4 separate regions of the Homo sapiens genome follow, and regions 2, 3 and 4 are each linked to region 1. The links are contacts of gene promoters, found by promoter capture Hi-C in blood cells and fetal thymus (Javierre and others, 2016). All regions are on one chromosome and are shown on one strand. Each heading gives the region's core, a stretch centred on a gene start or on the middle of the fragment in contact. The rest is flanking DNA. Distances are from core to core; before and after follow the strand shown. Region 1 holds the start of TFB1M (transcription factor B1, mitochondrial). Region 2 has its middle 4.5 kb from the start of ZDHHC14. Region 3 holds the start of FBXO5 (F-box protein 5). Region 4 holds the start of LOC105378076 (a long non-coding RNA gene).

The links. The method cuts DNA at HindIII sites, captures the fragments that hold promoters and counts their contacts. A CHiCAGO score of 5 or more calls a contact.
Region 2: a contact is called between a fragment that was not itself captured here and the fragment with the promoter of TFB1M in region 1, in 1 of 17 cell types (fetal thymus). The highest score is 5.2, in fetal thymus.
Region 3: a contact is called between the fragment with the promoter of FBXO5 here and the fragment with the promoter of TFB1M in region 1, in 3 of 17 cell types (total CD8 T cells, naive CD8 T cells and fetal thymus). The highest score is 8.4, in total CD8 T cells.
Region 4: a contact is called between a fragment that was not itself captured here and the fragment with the promoter of TFB1M in region 1, in 2 of 17 cell types (fetal thymus and monocytes). The highest score is 7.3, in fetal thymus.

What each region holds. Positions count from the first base shown.
Region 1 is chr6:155,313,208-155,315,907 of GRCh38, forward strand. It overlaps TFB1M (transcription factor B1, mitochondrial), which reads right to left and starts at 1,277. Exons shown (of 7, transcript NM_016020.4): 1 at 1,089-1,277. The coding sequence starts at 1,221. RefSeq lists enhancers at 1,052-1,371, 1,370-2,360, 1,442-1,491, 2,042-2,091 and a silencer at 1,542-1,621. The HindIII fragment of the contact is 4,007 bases long and covers 1-2,700 here.
Region 2 is chr6:157,375,349-157,378,071 of GRCh38, forward strand. No RefSeq gene overlaps it. Among named protein-coding and RNA genes, the nearest start is that of ZDHHC14, 4.5 kb to the right of the region's middle. The HindIII fragment of the contact is 371 bases long and covers 1,133-1,503 here.
Region 3 is chr6:152,981,791-152,984,490 of GRCh38, forward strand. It overlaps FBXO5 (F-box protein 5), which reads right to left and starts at 1,251. Exons shown (of 5, transcript NM_012177.5): 1 at 1,067-1,251. The coding sequence starts at 1,169. RefSeq lists silencers at 685-754, 1,235-1,554 and enhancers at 1,585-1,804, 2,095-2,214. The HindIII fragment of the contact is 9,521 bases long and covers 157-2,700 here.
Region 4 is chr6:157,324,058-157,326,757 of GRCh38, forward strand. It overlaps TMEM242-DT (TMEM242 divergent transcript), which reads left to right. Exons shown (of 1, transcript NR_187268.1): 1 at 1-420. LOC105378076 (a long non-coding RNA gene) reads left to right here and starts at 2,174. Exons shown (of 3, transcript XR_943165.2): 1 at 2,174-2,700. RefSeq lists an enhancer at 1-174. The HindIII fragment of the contact is 2,235 bases long and covers 135-2,369 here.

The DNA.
Region 1 (2,700 bases), core at 27-2,526:
TTGCACTCCAGCTTGGGCAACAAGAGTGAAACTCCATCTTAAAAAAAGAAAAAAAAAAAAAAGAGAAAACTTGAGTTAAATTATTTTATCCAAAGTCATATTGGTACAGGCAGAATAAAGACTACATGTCCAAGAAATAAAACATTTTATGTTTTCTGGAGTGTGCTTCATTTAAGTGAAAATGAACTTTTTGGGTGTGATTTACTGCTCTTTTCAACTTCTGAAGTGGGACTAAATAGAATGAAATATGAAAATCTCAAAACCTAAGTACTCCAGCCGTGACTTAGTAGACGTATTTGTAATATATTTTTGCAACCTCATCTCATAGAACATCACTAAGCAATGGTGATGGTGGTTAAACCAATATATAAATACATTCGTCAAAACTCATCAAATTGAGCACTTCAAACTTATTAATTTTATTGCACATAAATTATATCTCATAAAAAGTAACTTTAAACAATTAGGTGTGGGAATGTAAACTTGCTAAAAGTAAGCTCCTCGAGGAAACACCGCCTTGTTCACGCCCATATCCTACCCCCGGCACTAGCACAATGTTGCTTGTGTAATATGTACTTATGAATGAATATTAGCGCCCCCGAGGCTTAGACTGAACAGGTAAACGTTTAAAAAACGAATCATACGAGGGATACTCTTTTCACCAAGTTATTGATAAAATCCTCGCATCAATTTAAATTCTGGTAACTTTAAACTGCATGTAAAGCAACTGCAGTCAGCATGTGCTGTACTATTTCAGAATGATTGATTTCACAGTGACCCAGATTCCAATATTCACTAGCGCCTTTCACGACCCATGAACCCTTCCTCCCCTAGGGAGCTTGGCATTTATGCAGCCTGCCGGCAGGCTACACCCCCCCGAACGCGGAGTTTTGTGAGCAATCAACGCACTTCACGTGTCTCCTGGGCGGTGGGACCGGAGTTCTGATACAAAGAGGTCGAAGGACCTGACCAAAAGCCCGTCGCACGCCAGTGCCTGGACACCCGCCCGCGGGGACGTGCAAGACCCCCCGGCCCACGCCCCCACGGACACTGGGGAGACATCCGGGGAGCACTGCTAAGCCATCCACCTGTCAGCCTCAAGTCCAGGAGGAAATTCTGTGATAGCTGCTTCGCTGCTTGCAGTCTTAACAACTTAATGATTTCTCGAATCGTGGGCAACGGAGGGAGACGGCAAGTGCTGAGTTTTCCGGAGGCAGCCATGATACGCGGCAAGCACCATCCAACCCTACCTCACCCAGGACCTTCACCGCCGCTCCGAAAGAAACGCGCAGGGGAGGAACCTGCGAGACCTAAGGCCCGCCTCGGAGTCAGCCCCATTGGTCAGACCTATCCCACCGGAAGCGATGACCGCGGACAGGAAATTCCCGGCGTGCTGAGAGCGCATGCGCTAAGTCCTGCCGCGAGAAGGGCAGGCTGGGTGGTCGGCGGCTTCCGCCTGTGAGAGCCGGGGGAGAGCCGGGTGGACTAGGCTTCTCCTGGGCGGGCTATGGGGAGAGCGCCCAGGAGGGCGGGACGAGGCGGGGCCTGGACAGGGTGGGGTTTTTCGGAGGAGTTGCTCTGAGAGGTGCAGCCGGTTTACTCCCGCCCTGAAGTTCCCAAGGGCTTCCGGCTCTTTAACGTTCTAAATACCTGTCTGTGAATATTAGAGGAAAAGCGGGTGCTTAGAGGCAAAGCTACTGTTTGTTAGCAATTCTTTCTTACTGTGAGGCGTTTTTAGAACCGCCGCTCTGCAGATGCTGCATGATGGGTTTTTAACTTCGTTCAGCCTCAGTTTTTTCATCAGTTAAATGGAGCTAATGTCTACCTCAAAATTGTGAGCACTAAATGAGAGAGATCGCCTGGTGTGCACGTTCAGAACATAGTGCACGCATGGCATTGGGTAAGCTCCCACGTGATCAGTGGTGGCTGTTATTATTTGGCAGATGAATAATTGGCCAGTGTAAAGAGGTCATTCGATTTGCTAGGATTACAGCTAAGAACAGAGAGAAGACTGAAATATGAGTTCTGTCTTTCCGTTATACGAGATAAAAACAACGAAGCAAAAAAAAAAAAAAATTAAAGTTTCTCTGATAGGTGGGAGAATTTTGCTGTTTTAACCCTGCTTATGTTTGGACATTGCTGCGTTGATCACAAATGAATTTTAAAGTTTCTGTTCCTCAATTAGTAAGTTTTTAAAAAAGCTAATGGAAAACGAAACAACTATGGGTATGGATATAAAAATGAGGAGTACTTTGAAATTCCAGTGGAAAACTCAACCACCTTCTATAAAAGCTGTTTTAAAAGGAACTGAGATAATCTCCTAGCTTTAAAAAATAGTGATGACTACCATAGAGGTAAGGAGATTTGCCCAACGTGGCATCAAAATGTAGACTGGAAGTACAAACTCTTGATTCAGATATCTTATCGTCCAAAACACAGTATACCTGACAAAGCATTATTTCACAGTTATATTCATTATTTCCCGTACTCCTCACAATGGTCCCATGTGAATGAGATTATTATTCTTAGTTTGCTGTGAAGAAATAGGGGAGGTGAGGTCATTTGACAATGCCCAGAGTCAGACAGCAAAGTACAGAGAGAAGACAACCTGAGTTGTGTTTTTTCTGAGTTCTGATCTCACTGGCCACACTCAAGTATCAGCTTATTATTTTTAAGTTAATATGTGTTAATTTTGTAACA
Region 2 (2,723 bases), core at 68-2,567, 2.1 Mb after region 1:
TCGTTGCTGTAATTGCTGATGGCAGTGACAACTGAGGAGAGTGATGAAAACGTAAAGAAGGTAGAGTAATGCTCCCAGAAGGAGGTCTCGACTAATAACAGATGGGGAATTGGTGAATAAACTTCAGCTTTCTTGCCCCTCAGTTGGGATAACTCTGGCAGGTTGCACACCTCGGGCCTCCCAGAGTCCCCTAGAGCAGGGATCCCCAAACCCCAGAGACACGGACCAGTACTGGTCCACGGCCTGTTAGGAACCGGGCTGCGCAGCAGGAGGTGAGCAGTGGACAAGTGAGCGAAGCTTCATCTGTATTTACAGCCCTCCCCGTCGCTCGCATTACTGCCTGAGCTCCATCTCCTGTCAGATTAGCATTAGATTCTCATAGGAGTGTGAACCCTGTTGTGAACTGAGCATGTGAGGGACCTAGGTTGCATGCTCATTATGAGACTCTAATGCTTGATGATCTGTCACTACCTCCCATCACCCCCACTGGGGCCGTCTAATTGCAGGAAAACAGCTCAGACTCCCACTGATTCTACCTTATGGTGAGTTGTATAATTACTTCTTTATATATTATAATGTAATACTAATAATAGAAATAAAGTACACAATCAATGTAATGCACTTGACTCATCCCAAAACCATGCCCCCATCCCCTCACCCTCCAGTTCGTGGAAAAATTGTTTTCCACAAAACTGGTCCTTGGTGCCAAAAAAGTTGGGGACCACTGCCCTAGAGGGTCCGATTTCGGTGGCCCACCATGGTAGCTTGCTCGATAGCGCATGCTTTATTGGTTTCTTTTCCCTCCCTATCTCACTTCCTCACTCTTCTGCTGGTGTTTTCTGCAATCCCCTCCCAAATAAACTAATTGTGCTTGGATCCCTGTCAGTTCTACTCCAGCTAGAAACATCATGCACTTTCCCAATAATTTACTTTTCTGTACCCATCCCCATTTCCCTGAGAGACTAACCCTTTCATATTCTTCCTGTCCAAACTGTCAAGGTCAGAGGTGCACTTTGCTACAGGCTGGGCCTGAGATTTCTCTTCACTCTGAAATCAAGATGATTTCTCTATTCCACTCAGTTGTTGGTTCATCAGACCGCGTGCTCTTTCCATTGTGTGGGGGATATAGGAAAGCTTGAGTCAGACATTCATACCTGGCCTAGAATCTTGACTCTATTACTTACTTACTGCAAAACCCTGGGCAAATCACCTAACTTCTCTGATCTTCAGTTTCCTCCTCTGTGAAATAAAGATAATAATCCCTGCCTCATCAGGTTGTCCTCCGGATTTAATGATCTAAATGTATAAAGAACCAGGAGATTGACTAATACAAAAATACTCTGGAGAAAAGATCATTATTTTTATAATATCGTTCTCTTGTATTATTGAATTTCTCATGTGCCTCCATCTTGTTTCCCAACCTTAACTGTAGTTTCTCTGCCGCATTTACCTTCATCATACTGACCTGCACGTGACAAGCACTAAACATTATCAATTTTCTAAAGCTTTAAAGTGCTAAAAGAAAAACTTCAGCTGAATTCAATTTAAAATAGTTTAACTGAGCAAAGAATGATTCATGAATTGGGCAGCCTCCTGAGCCAGGGTAGCCTCAAAGACTGCAGTGCAGTCGCGTGGTGGAAGAGAATTTATGGACAGAAAAAAGAAAGTGACGTACAGAAAGCGGAAATGAGGTACGGAAACAGCCAGATGGTTACAGCTCAGCATTTGTCTTATTTGAACATGGTTTGAACAGCTGGCCACAATTGAGTGGCCAAAACTCAGTAATTGACACCCGAGTAGATCACACTCTGTTTACACTTCCATTTAGGCTACAGTTCAGTGTACAGAGAAACCTTTAGGCCAAACTTAAAATATGTAAAGAGGCAGTATTAGGCTAAACCCCATTTAGCAAAAGTAGATCATGCACTCTTTCAATTCAATTCAAGACTCATTTTTGGATTATTTGTTATTGGCGAGGCATTCTCAAGGAATTTTTAGCAGGTCTTTTGACTTTTCAGTGTCCTTGTTTGAGAAATACAAGTTTTGGTCTCTAATTCTAGATACGCTGACGTCCCTCTAGCATTAAAGTTTGGAATCTATACATTCCTGGAGGGCAAGGACGGTGATTTTTCTTTCAGACCCCTCAACACTTACACCGATGGTGGGTACAGAGTGTGGCATACAGAATTGATGCTGGTGCACACAGAATGAATTCCTGTTCCTTTTTCCCTCTCTCCCTGGCCCTCGCTCCACTCCAGCCAGACTGGTTTTTCTTTGTACCCCTAGAATTTTCCAGGTTGTTCTGCCTTGAGGACTTGGTACTTGCCCCTTCCCATCATTCGATTCTCTGCCCGACCCCAGTCTCTCCATCCCATAACCCTGCTTTGTTTTTTCGTTCTTGTAATTACTCTCTGAAATTGTCTTACTAGTCATTTATTTATTTGTTTATTCTCTCCACCTCTCCCCCAGTCCCCAAATATAAGCTTCTATCTTGGATCTTTTTGTATCACTGCTGCTAAAACAGTACTTAGCACAATCTAGGCCCTGAAATAGATAACTGTAAAATAAATGAATAAACTCTACCATCCCTTATACAGTAGGTTTTACAGTCATCCCTCAGTATCCTCAGGAGATTGGTTCCAGGATCACCTGCGTATACCTGAATCTGCACATATTCAGGTCCTTAAACAGGCTCCACAGAACCTGCATATAGGAAGAGTGGG
Region 3 (2,700 bases), core at 1-2,500, 2.3 Mb before region 1:
TAATAATAGAGTCATTACAAAATAGTACAATGCCGAATTGCTAAATTTTTTCATTTTGGGTTATTTCTCAGGTAAAAATAAGTGCATATAGATTTTATTTAGAGGTAGCAACAAAGAGGATAAAAATAAGCATTTGAGTGCATTCCATTCTCTGCAAGCTTTGAAATAAAGGACTATCTAATTCTTCATGAGTTATCGGGAAAAAGTCACCAATTCTTCGATTCTTACAAAATCATCTTAATACTATGGACAAATTCAAGGTTCGTAGTAAAAATTGCTTTTTTTAAAGTCTTCCCTTTCCACTCCAGGCCCTGAGACTGGGTTAACGGGCAAAGGGAGAAAAAATTGGGAAAAAGTAACGTTTTTGTTTGGATGTCCCAGTTGAGTTTGGTCCAATGAGTTGGGGGGGTGTCTCTCCATTTGGCGGGAGTGGGGAGGGAGACCCTGGAACTCCTGAGGGATCGGTGGGGCTGCCCCTCAGGGCGCGGGACACGCGGAGGAGGCGGGAGATAACCGCGAGCGCGATCTCCCGCGCCCGCCAGCAAGGCTGGGACCGCGAAAAATCGGGGAAACTGCCTTTGGCTGTGAGGGTGCGGGGCAGATGTAGAAAAGGGGCGCAGGGGGAGAAGGTGAGGCACCTGGCCAGGCCCTGGGGGCTTCTCGCTCGCAGCCCTGTCACCGCCGGGGGCCCCGGGGTGGGGGAGGGGAGGGGCATTTGGCGCCTATTCAAGCAGGGTGGGGTAGGTGGGTCTTCCGAGGAGGAAAAAGGGCGCCCTGGGATGCCACGACCCGCACCTCCCGGGGCTGGAGTCCACGGTCGGCGTGGGTGGCGGGACCCCGCGGCCCGCCATCCCGCCCCTGCACATCTGGCTCTTCTGGCTTCCCCCCGACACCCAGCCGCCCTCCTCCCGGACCCAGGAACCGCTGCCGCCGCCCGAGGCCGGGCGTGTGGCATGGCCGCGCGTCCAGGCTCCGAGGGACGTCGGGTCAGGGTCTCAGGCTGCGACCCTCCCCGTGCACCCCTCCTGGCGTGCGCGCCCCCCTCGCGACCGCTCCCCTCACTCACTATCCGAGGGTCGAGGGCGCCCGGCGGCTGTCACTGCGCTGGGGCTGGCGCTGCAGGAGCAGCGGGGTGGCCGTAGGGCGCAGCTGCAGGGGCGCCGGCTCATGCCAGCCGACGTGGAGTCTGCCTCAGGTGGAGGAACCGCTCCGGGGGCAGCTGAGCAACCTGCCTGCTTCACAGACCTGTATCTCTTAAAAGGCGCCAGCTGGTACTTTTAAAATCTTTGAATTTGGTGCCTAAATCCGCGCGGTCCAATGAGACGCGTCGCTTGCATGCGCGCACCAATAGGAGGGCAGTGGGTGGGGGCGCCCTCGTCCGCGCCCAATTGGAGGCTGCCGAGGCGGGGCCGAGCCGCGAAGCCCAGCCCCCTTCCAGCTTACCGGCTCCCCACGTCCGGAAAGATGCTACGGCCGGGGGCGGGACCTCCGAGCACGGGGAGGCCGCGGCCCGGCCACACGTGTGGAGGGTCTATCACGCATGCGTGCGCCCGCCAAGATTCCTTCCGCCGTCTTCTGGACCGGCCTCCTGCAAGTCCTAATCTCAGCCCAAATTCAGCGCTGGCTTCCATCTGGAGATCTTTGATGGGTACAAATGGTAGCCGACTTTCTTCGATCATCTCTCGAACGGGAGTTCGGTGAGCAGCAACTCGGCTCGTCCGGGAATCCAGACTTTCCGGAAGACGGACCCTCCCCCCAGTCCAGCTTAGCCCGCCTCTCTAGGATTTACGCGCGCGCTCTGCTCTCCCTCCTAACTCGACCCTCCCCTTGACCCACGCCTCTGCGCAGGCGCCTTGGCGGGCTGTGGCTGCGGAGTTGGCGGGTCGGCGCCTGCGCACTGGAGTCCCCCGCGATTTTTTCCTCCGGGGTGGGCGAGGAGGCTGTGCGGCCTTCCCCAGCGGCTGTAGCAGGAGACCTGCGGCTGCATCTCCCAGGGCCTTCCGGCGGGGCCGAGGGTAGGACCGAGGCACTTCTTCCTTGCAAGCGCGTTTATTTGTATTTTCAACCACACTTCAGACGCTACTGGTTTATAGGAACGTTAAGTTTACTGAGTGTGCAGCTACGCTCCCCTGGGTTTTTGTTCCTTTCCTTAAAGGGCCAGGTGTAGGAGACAGTAGTCCTGCTCCCAAAAAAAGAATAAATAGAAGTGCCCGCCCTCTTGGGCTGGACCCCCGTGGCCAAGGGAGTTTTTAGTGATGGCTGGCATGGACGTCAGTATGAAAGTGTACCGGAGTATTAGTGATGCTTAACTTTTCACAATTTGAATATGCACTTAAGTAGGGCAGTGCATTCCCTGAACTCAGCTTTATGGCTACAGCCCAGTGAAGCAACGGGATGTGAACTCCAAAACGGCGAATCCTCCTTTGCTGTTTCCCTCTGGTGCCTTTCTGCAGCCTCGGAGTGAGTTCTTGGCTGTAGTCAGTTTTCAGTACCGTTAGTGACGAGTCCGGTGGGGCGCGGCCAGGATTAGGATGAATCATACAAGTGCTGGGTGGATCCTGTCTTTACCTAAAATTTTGATAATTAGTTGTGGGGCGCGGCCAGGATTAGGATGAATCATACAAGTGCTGGGTGGATCCTGTCTTTACCTAAAATTTTGATAATTAGTTCATCATGGGTTTTTTGCCTTTTTCATTTTTA
Region 4 (2,700 bases), core at 2-2,501, 2.0 Mb after region 1:
CGCGGTGTGAGTGCTCGGCCTCCGTCGGGAAGTGGAACACTCACAGGATGACCGAATGAAAGTACCACCCCCGAAAGGAGAGCGACGCCCGCTGGAAGCGCTTGCAGAGCTGCCGGCAACGTTGACCGCTAGCAAGCTTGGTCTTCCGCTGGGAGGCTGGTTTGCCCATTCTGTAAATGGCCGTGGAGAGGAGGAGGCTAGTGGTGATAGAAAATCTTTTCAGCCTCTCAGAGAACAATGACATCTTGTAAAATAAGGCGGTCTCTCTGCTATTTGTCCTGCCCCCCATCACCGGAGGGCATGAGTTTCCTGAGGATGGAGATGGGACTCTATGTTCAGTTTATATCCCCCAGCTTTCAGATATTAACTGGTTACCAACATCAAATGCATGTTGGATGAATGAGTAAATGAATGCATCCATTTTTGCGTCAGTGAAGTGCAGTTAATAGCTCAAACCTGGGCTCGGGTCCTAAACCGCTTCTCAGGTGTGTGAACTTGGGGTAACTTAGCCCCTCTATAGCTCAGTTTCCTCACCTGTAAAATTTAAAAACTGGTAGTAGGCCAGGCGCGGTGGTTCACGCCTGTAATCCCAGCACTTTGGGAGGCTGAGGCAGGTGGAGATCAGAAGTTCGAGATCAGCCTGGCCAACATGGTGAAACCCCGTTTCTACTAAAAATACAAAAATTAGCGGAGTCTAATGATGCGGGACTGTAATCCCAGCTACTCGGGAGGCTGAGGCAGGAGAATGGCTTGAACCTGGGAGGGAGAGGTTGCAGTGAGCCGAGATCGAGCCGTTGCACTCCAGCCTGGATGACAAGAGTGAAACTCTGCCATCCACCCCATCCCGCCCCCCCCACACACAAAAACTGATAGTACCTAACTCATAGGATTACTGTGAGAATTAAATGAAGCAACATCTATAAAGAAGTTAGCACAGTGCCTGGCACATATAAATATTCAATACATGTTAGCTCTAACTATTACCACCTTTGATTCCAGTAGCTATTTTGCAGCATTGCCTATGGGGATTTTTAAAAATGATGGATTATCAAGGTCTATCTACCACGGGAGATTAGAGCTCTGAAGGCCCGCGGGTGGCAGGGCAGAATGTAAAAGCTCCGTGGGGTTTCTGATGATAAAAAACTACTGCTCTGTTCAAATTTTTGTGTGGATGAGATCACACAGAATGTATGTGACCTTTGGATTTCCTGGAAACACGTCAGTATCTGAAAGGGCTTTTAAGCTGGTAAATGCTGTGCTAATTTGTTGAAGGACCTATCCTTTTTCCTTCCCCTCATACATAACAGTAACCATAGCTGCTAACATGTATTGAGTGCTTTCTATATATCTGACATTGCACTAAGTGCTTCAAGTACATTATCTCATTTATTCCTCTCCATAAACTCAGAAAGACTAACTTGCTCAAGCTCACACAGCTGTTAAGTGGCAGAGACAGGGCTTAAAAGCAGGTCCTTCCTTATCCACTGTGCCAGTCGTCCTCAAGTGTGAACTTGAATATTGGAATCACCTGGAAGGCTTATTGCACTCAGCTTGCTGGGCCCCATTCCCAGAGTCTGTGACTCAGTGGGGGCTGAGAACGTGTATGTCTAAGTTCCCAGGTGATGCTGTTGCCACGGATTCCACTTCGAGAACATCTTCTGTGTGCCTTCCTCTTATGGATTACACCTCTTAAAATCCACACCATACACTTTAGCACTTGGAAATCTGTTTTCCCAAGACTGCTTAGGGAGAAAAAGTGCAGATTCCTCCACTCTCTTCTTTGCTGTCCCCTTAGAAAACGACAGAAACATTTTAAGGATTAAGCTGGGCACAGTGGCTCAAACCTGTAATCCTAGTGCTTTGGGAGGTCGAGGCAGGCAGATCACTTGAGGTCAGGAGTTTGAGACCAGCCTGGCTAACATGGCGAAACCCCATCTCTACTAAAAATATAAAAATTAGCTGGGTGTGGTGGCGGCGCCTGTAATTTCAGCTACTTGGGAGGCTGAGGCAGGAGAATCGCTTCAACCCAGGAGGCAGAGGTTGCAGTGAGCCAAGATCATGCCACTGCACTCCAGCCTGGGTGACAGAGCAAGACTCCGTCTCAAGATGATGATGATGATGATGATAATAATAATAATAATAATTTAAGGTTTATATCACTGCTTACTATAAGGAACAGAAGGGAGATAATAGATCTTGTAATCTAGGGAAATTACAGAGTCCTGCATTCCAGAGCTGGTCTCCATTGAAAGTAACTGCACATCCTAGGAAACTGGTGTCTGCTTTGTTTTGGATGTTGCAGCTCACAAACCTCTATCTTCTTTCTAAATCCCCAAAGTAAAAGGCAATCTTCCTTTTTTCTACTTGAAAGCTTGTTTTCCCAATATACACAGGACTGAAAAGGCAATTGACACAAACCAATGGTTTACACTTCAGCCTCAAAATTTGCATTTTGAGGATCTTTGTGGGATACATACCAAGGAGAGGAGGAGGTGCGAGCTCCTTGGTCAAGGCCTGTTTGTGGAGACTACTACAGCCCCATTTCTCACTAGCCCCCAGCACCTGCCCTGTGACTTGCTTGGTGCCAGATCCTGGGAGATGGTGTTTCCAGAGCCTCAGAAGCCTGCCACACACTGGGACGGGAAGTCCCTGGCCCTGGGATAAGACCAAATTCCAGGCATCCCAAGTTGGAATGCTGAA